Regions from separate parts of the Homo sapiens genome. Here region 2 is linked to region 1. The links are contacts of gene promoters, found by promoter capture Hi-C in blood cells and fetal thymus (Javierre and others, 2016). All regions are on one chromosome and are shown on one strand. The core of a region is centred on a gene start or on the middle of the fragment in contact, and the rest is flanking DNA. Distances in the headings are between cores, read along the strand shown.

Region 1 (5,739 bases), core at 1,864-4,363:
GTTAGCTGTTTTTTCTAGTTTTGTGTCTTTTGCAAATCTGACATTGTTGATATATAGATATAGCTTTCCAAGCTGACTGTTATAAGGCAACCGTCACACATTTGTATCTGTCAAATTCTGGATTTCTAGGTTTTTGTTTGGCTTTGGTTTGATTGCTTTTTGAAGCAGTCAATATGTTATACAGTAAGAAAATATAAATAGTTTATCCTTCAGGAATATTGAATCTTGGAGGCATAAGGATTGGACACTTCAAAAACCATAATATTAGAGAGTGTATAGTTATTGTCCAAATAAATAGAGACACATATATTATTTGGTCATTCAGAGACCCCAGATTAATTGCTACAGGTTGAGGTGGTTCTAGAAAGAGAATATAGTATTTGGGCTGGGCTTTAACAGGTGAATAAGAATTTGGTAAGTGAAGAGAGTGAGGAGCAAGACTTGCCATTCAGTATGTACAAAGGGGCAGAAATCAGGAAATTAAAAGCATGGGGGGAGTGCTGGAGCTAGACGAGGTTAGTTGGGAAATGCGACAATGATAGAAAAGGCTGGAAAGAAGGAAAGAAACATTTTGTGGAGGATCCAGACTAGCAGACAACATTTGTGTTTATCATATGTGCAAGGAGAGTTGTTAAGGCTTTTGAGCAGGGAATGACTATATCAATGCAGTATTTTAAGGAATTGAATTTGGCAAATATAGTGAAGGAGAAAGAGACAAGAAAAAGGTAGTATACCTAGAGATTAGCATAGCATTCCAATTCTCAAGTGATGAAGGCTTATGGTAGGTATTGCTGTGGATGCTAAAATAAAGGGGGGTAGGGAAGGAAGCATCCACAGATCTTGATGATCCAAATTGGGATTTGGAGTGCCAAATAATCCTATTTGCAGATGTTAGGATTATTCCATTCCTTCATCAATATTGAAGCTAATATCTGTGCAAGTTTTATAGTACCAGAAAAAAAATTTTTAACATGTAATCTACCCTTCCTAGAGTCAACTTTTGATATAGTTTGGCTGTGTCCCCACCCAAATCTCATCTTGAATGATAACTCCCACAATTCCCACCTGTCATGGGAGGAAACTGGTGGGAGGTGATTAAATTATGGGGGCGAGACTTTCCTGCGCTGTTTTTGTGATAGTGAATGAGTCTCGAGGATCCGATCATTTTAAAAATGGGAGTTTCCCTGCACAAGCTCTTTGCCTGCCGCCATCAATGAAAGATGTGACTTGTTCCTCCTTGCCTCCCGCCATGATTGTGAGGCCTCCCCAGCCATGTGGAACTGTAAGTCCATTAAACCTCTTTATTTTGTAAATTGCCCAGTCTCAGGTCTTTATTAGCAGCGTTAAAAATGGATTAATACAGCTTTTTTCAGAGAACAGTAAAACATTGTCTTGGTTCTTGGGTGAGTAAGAGCAGAAGGGACACTTTTGGTGCCGTGGCATCTCTTGGCAGAGAAGTCTAATTTCACTGCTAACTTGCTTTGTGAGGGTGCATTTGTGACAAGAAGAACAAATAGATGTGCAAAGAAAAAAAACTCATACACACACATATAGGCATATCCATGGGAAATTATTCAGATCCTTCTCCTACCCCAAAGTGCCTAATTATTCAAGGCTTGACTCAAATCCCGTCTACTTGAAGGAACTAATTGATTTTATGAGCATATAGTCCAAAAAGATTTAGTTTGTCTGGCTTCAGCAATGCCTACCTGGAGAAGTGACATTTAAGCTGAGATTTTTAAACTAAGATCTAAAAGATGAGTTAGCCAGCGAAGAGTTGGGTGAAGCAGATGTTGGCTCAAGGGGTTTTCCAAACTCAGGGTGAGAAGTCCCTGAGTTTGGAGAGTGTGGTTTATTTGAAGAACTAAATGCTGAAGTAAGCAAAGCAGAGTGGCACATTATGGGGTTGGACAAAGAGATCGGGCAACCAGGGCTTTATAGTATGTATTAAGAAACTGAATTTTATAAGAGCAAAGAAAAGCCATGGAAGGATTTTCAGGTTGGCAAATGACATGATCTGCTTTTCAATTAAAAAAAAAAACACTCAAACTCTTGTATGGAGAATGGATTAAAAGGTAGATAAGGGCTGAAGTGAGGCAGCCATTCGGGAATCTACTGCAGAAGGAGGCAGCAGAAGAGATGGAGCAGAGTAAATGAGACTTGGGAAATATTTAGGAGGAAGAATCAATTAAGATTTGAGGATCAGGTGTTGCGAGGTGAGGGAGAAGGCAATGTCAACTATGAATCCTAGGTATCTGTCATGTGCCATTTCTAGAAAAAGAGCAGGTTTGAGGAGAAAGATGTTTGGTTCTGAACATAGTTTGTAGAGCTCACTGCACATACAAGTGGAGAGGCAAGTGGGAGTTGTAGGTGTGAAGCCCAGAGGAGAGGTGTGGACGGGATAAGCATTTAAGACTCCTCCATCTAGAAGGAAACTGAAGCTGTGGGTGAGGTCATCACAGCACAGCGTTTAGGAGAAGCCCAGGTAAAGAAGCTGACGAATGTCTGGACCCTGACAACCTTAACATATAATGGTTTGATAGTGGAGGTGGAGGCAATGTAGAAAGAATGCCAGAGGCAGGAAAAAGCAAGAAGGATGTGTTATCATCATGACCAAGGAAGAAACGTGTTTCAAGAACAAAGGCGTCAACTCTGCCCCATGCTTCCGAGCTGTCAAGTAAAGTGAGAAAAACAGAAAAGCGTTCCCTGGGTTTAGCAACACGGAGGTCAGTTGCTAAAGGGAGCTTCTAGAATGACGACGTCGCCAAATCTGTCCTCTGCCTGGATTCTCGGCGATGAAACTACTACAGAGACCTCCAAGTTTGGGCTTCTGCAAACACAGCACGTCCTTCTGATCGTTCTCTAAGATATGTAAACAGAACGCCAGTTCCCAGCGTGGCAACACGGGACTGGGCTGCAGCTCACCCAGCCGGCGGCCCCCGCCGGAAGCCGGCGGAAATACCCCAGCGCGTGGGCGGAGCAGCGGCCCGCAGAGGGAGGCGGTGGCGCCCACGGAACAGCCGCGTCTAATTGGCTGAGCGCGGAGCCGCCCGGTGATTGGTGGGGGCGGAAGGGGGCCGGGCGCCAGCGCTGCCTTTTCTCCTGCCGGGTAGTTTCGCTTTCCTGCGCAGAGTCTGCGGAGGGGCTCGGCTGCACCGGGGGGATCGCGCCTGGCAGACCCCAGACCGAGCAGAGGCGACCCAGCGCGCTCGGGAGAGGCTGCACCGCCGCGCCCCCGCCTAGCCCTTCCGGATCCTGCGCGCAGAGTGAGTGGCCGTGAGGTTCCGGGTGCCGGGGGTGGGACGCGCAGGGACAGAGTCCTCGGGCCGTGCAGTTGGACGCCGGGCGAGGACGGGCCGTCTGTGCTGACCCGCGAATAGTGATCCCAGAGGAAGAACGCGTCCTGAGTATTCCAAGTGCGAGCAGTGCCACCTGTTCTCGGAGATGGCACTGCTCAGCACGATTGTCCTTGCCAGTCGTGCTCTGGCAGTGAAGAGGACTTGTGAAATATAATTTTCCTCTAGAAGGCACTGCACCTTCCCATTTACCGTCACTTTCTCCCGTTTCCACCCCTTTCCATCAGTCACGTTTTCTTCTTTTCGCAGAAAGTTTCATTTGCTGTATGCCATCCTCGAGAGCTGTCTAGGTTAACGTTCGCACTCTGTGTATATAACCTCGACAGTCTTGGCACCTAACGTGCTGTGCGTAGCTGCTCCTTTGGTTGAATCCCCAGGCCCTTGTTGGGGCACAAGGTGGCAGGTCAGTAAATGTTCATGGAATCAGATGAATGAGTACATGACTTCGGAATCTTAATTATGTTTCTATGTTCAAAGATGGAAGGGCTTAATGTCTTCCTAGAGTTTAAAAGTGATGTTTAGTTTTTGCAGACCCCCCACCCCAAAATAATATAGTCTTAAAAAAATTTCTGGCCGGTACTGAAGAGTTCTGTGGTAGGTATGCAGAGGTGTGGTTGATTGTGCTTTGAATGTTGTTTGTATAGATAAGGAGTTATTTTCATAGAACAGAAACAGGACTTGAGCCTCCAGCACAGTCCATTGTGCAACCATTGCTTAATGAGGATGCTGGACTCACACTTGTGAGATCATAATATGGTTTGCTTTTTACTTTCTAATTCCGTCTGAAATATACATAATTTCAATTCAACAAACTGTTTCGAGCACATAGTATATGCAGGGCACTGTCCAAGGTCCATAAGATGTTAAAAAGCAAAATACCCCACTACTCTACCCCCTCCCCACCCACCTTCCCCCGCCGGGGACTCTGGAGGCATCACAGAGCTTTACAAGGAAAACTGGAACCGATGCTCTAATAGAGGTACAGAATTCAGTGAGACGCAAGTCAAAGAAAGCTTAATTGTGAGTAAGTCTCAGACAACTTTATGAAAGAAGGGGCTTTTGTACATAGCTTTGAATGCTATAGGATTTAGAGACGCAAAAATTTGTGGAGAGGCTGTTTCCAAGGGCGAGTAGCTGGAGCAAAGCAGAAATGTTGGGCACAGTTGAAAAACAGTAAATGATTTGGTGACTGGGTTGCTTTGTTGATGGATGAAGATGGGGTGGGGTGGAAATCTGCCTAGGAATGGACAGATCATAGGATTTTTGCACAGGAGATTGATGTGGTCCAATCTGTGGGCAGCAGAGGCTGGACTGGGAAGGTAGAATGTTGGAGACAGGAAGGAGCAGGTCTTGGGATGGAGTGGAAGGAATCAACCCTAAATCTGAGATTTGAGCTCAGTGACTGGGAGATGGCCATGCCACTCCCTGAGTTGGTAACAGGTTTTGTGAGTAGATGAGACTGACTCCAGATTTGTGAACATGAGCTTATTTATTCATTGTTTTTTTTTTTTAGAGACAGAGTCTCTCTCTGTCTCCCAGGCTGGAGTACAGTGGCGCGATCTCAGCTCACTGCAACCTCCGCCTCCTGGGTTCAAGCAATTCCCCTGCCTCAGCCTCACGAGTAGTTGGGACTACAGGTGCACACCACCATGCCCTGCTAATTTTTTTTTGTATTTTAGTAGAGACAAGGTTTCACCATGTTGCCCAGGCTGGTCTTGAACTCCGGAGCTCAGGCAATCCGCCCACCTTGGCCTCCGAAAGTGCTGGGATTACAGGCGTGAGCCACCTGGCCAGCCCAAACATGAGCTTATTAATTCACCTCTTCTGTGCCAGGTGCTACATATGTACTAGCTCAACCAGCCTTAAGAACCAACTGTGGCAGGGTGCGGAAGCTCACGCCTGTAATCCCAGCACTTTGGGAGGCTGAGGTGGAAGGATTGCCTGAGGTCAGGTGTTTGAGACCAGCCTCAGAAACATAACGAGAGGCTGTCTCTACAGAAAATTTAAAAATTAGCCAGGCTTCTTGGCTCGTGTTTATTGTATTAGTCTGTTCTCATGCTGCTATAAAGAACTGCCCGAGACTAGGTAATTTATAAAGTGAAGAGGTTTAATTGACTCACAGTTCTGCATGGCAGAAGGCATCTCTTCACGGGGCAGCAGGAGAGAGAATAGATGCAAGCAGGGGAAATGCCAGTGGCTTATAAAACCATCAGATGTCATGAGGCTCACTCATTATCACGAGAACAGCATGGGGGAGACTGCCCCCATGATTCAGTTACCTCCACTGGTCCCGCCCTTAACACATGGGAATTATATTACAATTCGAGGTAAGATTTGGGTGGGGGCATAGAGCCAAACCATATCACTTGCAGTCTGAGCTCCT
Region 2 (5,923 bases), core at 486-2,985, 670 kb before region 1:
TGAGTACCTATTAAGTAACTAGGACTTCAGACTGCATGTTACTATATGAATTCAATTTGACTCACCTCCAGTATGTTTATCTACCACAACTATTGTTTAAAATAATCAGATGAATGTTTATCATAACTTTATAACTCCCCCAAATTATACTTCAGTATTTAACATGGTAGTTTCAAAAAATAAATATTCAAGGCCCCAGTTTTAAATTTTCCTCCAATGTAATCCACAAAGTTGATAATACATGTTAGGAGCACTACTCTAAAATAAATGTAGCTTTCTTTTAAAATTACTTGTTGCAATAGAGATCACATTCTATTCCAAATTCTGATAAGGAATCTGTTTTTTTGGTAATACAACAAAAATTTGGGATGAGTCAGTCCTTGGAAAATCTTAATAGTAGTCACTGAACGAAGTCAATCATTCCGAGAGCCACAAACACTCAAAAATTACTGCTAGCATTGACAAGTTCTTGTGTTTTTTGATGGTTATTGCTTTAGTTGGCAATATCTGAATACAAGACAAAAGAACATCTCCCATTAAGCCTTATGTTAAATATTACAAAACTTATACAGAAGATAGACTCATAGAGGCTATAAAGCTGATGTCTTAAGTAACTCACCCATGAAATGGGTGCAGGTTTTTTAAAGGCTATCCAATAATCTTTTTACTCTAAAAATAAATGCCCCTACTTTTCAGTGTTCCCATTCTTCAACAGGAGACTCGAGCAGCTTAACAGTTTTGCTATAAAAACAAACCATTCTTCTTAACAAACCAAGAATATAAAAGGAAACCCAATAAAGGACGTACTTTTCACAGTTAACAATAAATAAAAGTGCAATAAGTGTTCAAGTAGGGCATGTAGTATAAAAACTACACATGAGTATTTAGCATAGGTCATCTTTTAAAGGCTCTCCGAGGGTCCCTGCCATTACTTATTGTGGTCATCACTGTTTGATTACTAGCTGTTCCTTGTAGTTGTGGATTTATAAGTCCCCGGCCATTGCTTCTGCCAGCATGTGAAAACTGGTGTTCCCTTGATTCAGGGCCAGTGTGAACACCATTTCCTAAAAAAGAATACAAAAATTCATCACTATTTTCAGAGGTAGTCTATAGAAGTAGAACTATCTTAAGTGCCAACATGTTATTAATGCTTAAAAATATTAAAGCACACACTTTTATTTTTATACAGAAAAAAAAAACAATGTGGGCTCTAAGTTTTTCCAAATGTATTGCTATAAATATGCTAACTTGATGCTGTATTAATAGAGAGAAAAAAGCCAACTTGGGCATCAAAATTAGAAATTAATAGAGTAAAAAAATGCATTGCCTACACTATAAAAGAAAAAGAAAGGGCAAAATAGTGAATATTGGAATTTGGCTCAAATATGATTAATATCTCAAAACAGACAATGTTATTCTAACTTTTTAAAGGCAAAGGCAGCGTTTCCCACAATGTGATCAGCAATGCCAAGACATGTAGCCTTCGAGTCAAATAAAACATGAGCTGGCCAGGTTCAGTGGCTCACGCCTGTATGTAATCCCAGCACTTTAGGACGCCGAGGCAGGTGGATCATTTGAGGTCAGGAGTTCGAGACTAGCCTGGCCCATATGGTGAAATCCCATCTCTATTAAAAATATAAAAATTAGCTGGGTGGTAGTGGTGCACATCTGTAATCCCAGCTACTTGGGAGGCTGAGGCAGGAGAATCACTTGAGCCTGCGAGGTGGAGGTTGCGATGAGCCAAGATCACGCCACTGCACTCCAGTCTGGGCAACAGCGTAAGACCCTGTCTCAAAAACAAAACAAAACCAAAACATGAGCCATCCTAATGAACTCTAATCACAAAAGACTGACTTTTCCTCATATATTTAAGAAAAAAGACTTCAGAAGACCTTTAACAGAGCTACAAGGATCATGAACATGATGTCTGGGGGTCATGTTAAATGACATCTGAGGGTCACTAGCCTTTAAACGGCTCAGCTCATCTTTTAAAGCAGCAGCTACTTGTATGTGAAAAATTAAGGTGAACTATGACTCTAAAGATAAAACGCTTTCAGTGCACCAAAATAACCAGTAATTCTGCATCTACTATAAGTAATCACTAGATTATAGAAATTTTATAGGAATCAATAAAAAAAAAATAGCATGGTATCTCTTCACGGACATCACAAAAACTTAGAATTCTCAATAAACTGGCTTAAGTTTATCAACTTTCTAGAAAATCAGCCCTTTGGGGATTCCCTGTTTACTGGTAGTTCACCTTTATCACTAATTTATGCCTAAAGACGTTGCTTTTCACGTGAATCTTTACAGCTCTCTTCATTCTTATACCTGATCACAAATGAAACACACAAACAAAATCTTACCCACTGGTCCAAATGTACCTGTACCCATATTACTATTCATGGAATTATTCTTCTGTTCACTCTGTGCCTAAAAAAAAGTTTTTAATTTAACCAAACGAGAATAAAAACACAATTATATTATTACAACATTATTATATCCTTTCTTTTTTAAAGTTTTGGGTTTGGCTTTTTTTTTTTTTTTAATTAACAAATTTTTTAAAGATTTTTCCTAGGTCATTAAAGGTTATAATGTTAAGAAACGTTTCCCAAACCTTTCAGAGCTCTGTTACATCCTATTTCCTGATAATTACTCAGCACACCACAAAGTGCAAAATGGCACATATATCTAGTAGATGACACCTCAGATACATATCCTCACAAAACATACAATAAAAATTAAGTATCCTTTTAAAAATTATCTTCTTTATACTAAGTATCAACAGGGCTAGCCTAATCATAGAATTATAACACAGTCAAAATTAGCCTAATCATAAAAGTATACTACACAATTACCCCTTTGTTCTGCTGTCCTCGATAATCTGGGTTGGGTTCACTGAAATTTGGCACTTCTGAATAAACCATACAAAATCTGAAAGAAAATAAAGAAAAAATTAAATGACTTCTGAAATAAAGTCCTCAACCCTTCTTTATGTAACATCTCTAACTTTTAGGAATGAACTTATGTGTCAAACAAATTAATAGCAACAAACTAACTCTTCATTTACAACAAAAACTTCCCAAATGATTATGTCCCATAAAACATCAAATATTTGACTGTCTACAAGATATATAACATTCTATTTTGTATTTAAATTCTTCTTTAGTGCTGAAAAAAAAATCACATCAAAAATCAAGGACACAAAAACATCTCTGTCCTGTTTTTCCACAAAAGCTGATCAAAGGAAAAATAACATGAGAGTGAACCATGTTTAGGGTTCCAGGGTGGTTTCTCCAGCAGTGGTAATGGATTTGCACCGATCCATTCACCCACTCCCATTCAGTCCCTCTTTTGATCGATCACTGTGGATCTGCAAAGATAATCATTTAGGGTTAAGAGTGGTTTCTAGGCAATAAATAATAACAACAGGCTACATAGCCACCAGTTTATCCAAGTGCTTCCTGTAAGTTGACCATATAATGTGTACTAACATTACAAAGAAGCATTTTATTACTCCTCACCATACTGAAGACAAATCAGAACCAGTTTTGGTAAATCCTCGACTGACCCTGACAAAGAGCAGTCATTAAGAAATGAGTGACCTCTAACGGTTTTTCACGTAACTGACCTCCATTATTATCAACACCTCTGTATGAATACATGAAGGTCAGGACAGAATCCTGAACCTTTCAGTAACAGACACTAAGACCTTTCATAACACATAACTCTATTAATGCTACTCTAAGTGAATCCTAACTTCCCTTCTAACAAAGGCAAAGCGTTAAGTGTTTCTGATCTTTAAAAGCTAGCATGATCATTTCTTTTCCTTCATTATTAACCACAGGTTCTCCAAATAAGCATCTTATTCCCTCAGTGGCAAACAGTTTTCCTTTTTTATCTGGTGCCATTTGTGGCTTCTCTTTTTAAATATCTTCCAATTTGACAGGCATTAAGTAGATGGCAGAGCATTAACCAAACAGAATGGACTGATGATTTGGCTCATTGCCTGTACCATACTTTATGAATACAACCCAATGTCTAGGCTAACATGGAGGCTGAATTACCTTACACCCCTAGAGAGGATGGCTCCTCCAGGTCAGGGTGGAGATCATTACCAGGGTAGTAGTGTATGGAATCTCGCATTGCGGCTGCCTGCACCGCACCTAGACTGTGGATAAATAGAGGACTTCAGTTTTCGTTGCTGCAAGTCCTTTTTAACATGAGTACATATTCACCCATAACCATAGAAAAAGAAAATTTAAACTTATGGCCTGAAACTTGGTGAATCACTAGCTTCGTATATGGTGAATCACTACAAAAGAGAATCTACTTCAAATGGCTCTTGTGACACCTAAAAAATGCACATTTCTAAAACCTACAGAAATGCTTCCACTAGGGCTGGTCTCAACTGCAGCTTCTTCTACTGCTCTTTGCCAGGAAAAATTGACACTTTTAACCACAGAAAACAGTACTGACAAGTGTTAAATTTGTATACACGAAGTTATTTTTTCAATTAAGCTACCAAAGACATTCAGTTTACTAGTCAAAAAAGCCAAAGAGGTTTACAATTCATACCTACCAATCATTCCGTAGATATTATTTATAATATATGCAATTATACAAAATGCATTTTAATACTTACTCCCCAATTTTTTGAAGTTCACCACCCCTTCCAGTATAAAGTGTCAGACATCCTTTCCACATGGATGCATACCTAGAGAGAAAAGAAACATTAATTCTTTAGAAATATATTTATTTTCTTCTATTTAAATCAAGTAAATCTTCACACTATATATTTTTTGTATTAAGGTAGAAGTGAGGATCAAGCCCTCTCTATCCACCATAGTAAATCAAATACAATAAATCTAACTTTGATAACTTGCTATTTACAAAAGAATACAAAAATTCTGTCGAATTTTGACATAATTATCTAAATCATAACAAATTCTGGAAAATAAGTCTTTTCGCAAAGCCAGTATTATTATACCCAATGATCACATCTTTAGTCAATTAACAAAACAAAAGCTTTTAATTGCAGAAATTTAAACAGAAACTATTTTTCAGCCACAAGATATGTAAAATCATCCTAATGTTTCATTTACAGTCTAGTCAAATAATGATATAACAGTTTTCCTTCTGCCTCCATAAAAGACACAGGATTCCTAAGCTACCGAAGATCTGGTAGAATTTCAAAGTGCTAAAAAAAACACTAAGGTCACAAAGCTTCACCTATCTGCCTTTCCAAACATGTGATTTTTAATACCATGCTGGGTTTGTAGTAAACAAACTGGCAAATGTTTACTCCGAACAATTTTGAAAGCAGACAGCATCACTACATAAAATAATCCTAGATATCTAAGAAAAAGGTAAATTAATATTATAAAATCAATCCAAGGTTTGGTTCTCAATGGTTCTCTGTACAACTACTATGGTAACTTCATGACTTTAACTTACTATACAGTTCTCTTTACTTTAATTAAAGGGTTATTTATTAAAGACACCATTCACCACTCTTAAGTTATACAAAGAGTGGCTTAGGATACAGTGCATTAACATTTCACCTTACTAAAATAAAAATTAACCCATATTTTGAGAAAAAATTTGGTTACAATTAAAATATTTAACATTCACTTTAAGAAATGAGAACACTGAGGTAAGTTTTCAGGGTATTCTGATAAACATGTTGATATTTGAACCATTATTTAGATGTTAGGTATGTTTTTCTTCAAAAGCTACTTTTCTTAGATTCAACCAGAATTTAAGGGCCTTAGAATGAGCCAGACTCCAAGCTGAGTGTGTTGTTTTGGTAAATAAGGTATAATTATTCCCATTTCACAGAAGAGGAAGCTGAAGTATGAGGTGTAGTAACTTCTCAAGGTCATACTGAAGTAGTAAATAGAGTTTCTATAGTTTTTAATTT

What was found. Contacts are between HindIII fragments. The CHiCAGO score rates a contact against its expected background, and 5 or more counts as called.
Region 2: a fragment that was not itself captured here is called in contact with the fragment with the promoter of STAT1 in region 1 in 1 of 17 cell types (neutrophils); the score reaches 5.1 in neutrophils.

What each region holds. Positions count from the first base shown.
Region 1 is chr2:191,011,545-191,017,283 of GRCh38, reverse strand. It overlaps STAT1 (signal transducer and activator of transcription 1), which reads left to right and starts at 3,113. Exons shown (of 25, transcript NM_007315.4): 1 at 3,113-3,266; 2 at 3,606-3,759. RefSeq lists enhancers at 1,693-1,742, 2,521-2,600, 2,631-2,830, 3,441-3,760, 4,872-4,931 and 2 more and silencers at 2,881-3,120, 3,151-3,350. The HindIII fragment of the contact is 15,587 bases long and covers 1-4,371 here.
Region 2 is chr2:191,680,740-191,686,662 of GRCh38, reverse strand. It overlaps NABP1 (nucleic acid binding protein 1), which reads right to left. Exons shown (of 6, transcript NM_001031716.5): 3 at 4,646-4,717; 4 at 2,859-2,934; 5 at 2,367-2,433; 6 at 1-1,064. The coding sequence ends at 895. Among named protein-coding and RNA genes, the nearest start is that of NABP1, 5.6 kb to the right of the region's middle. The HindIII fragment of the contact is 6,591 bases long and covers 1-5,030 here.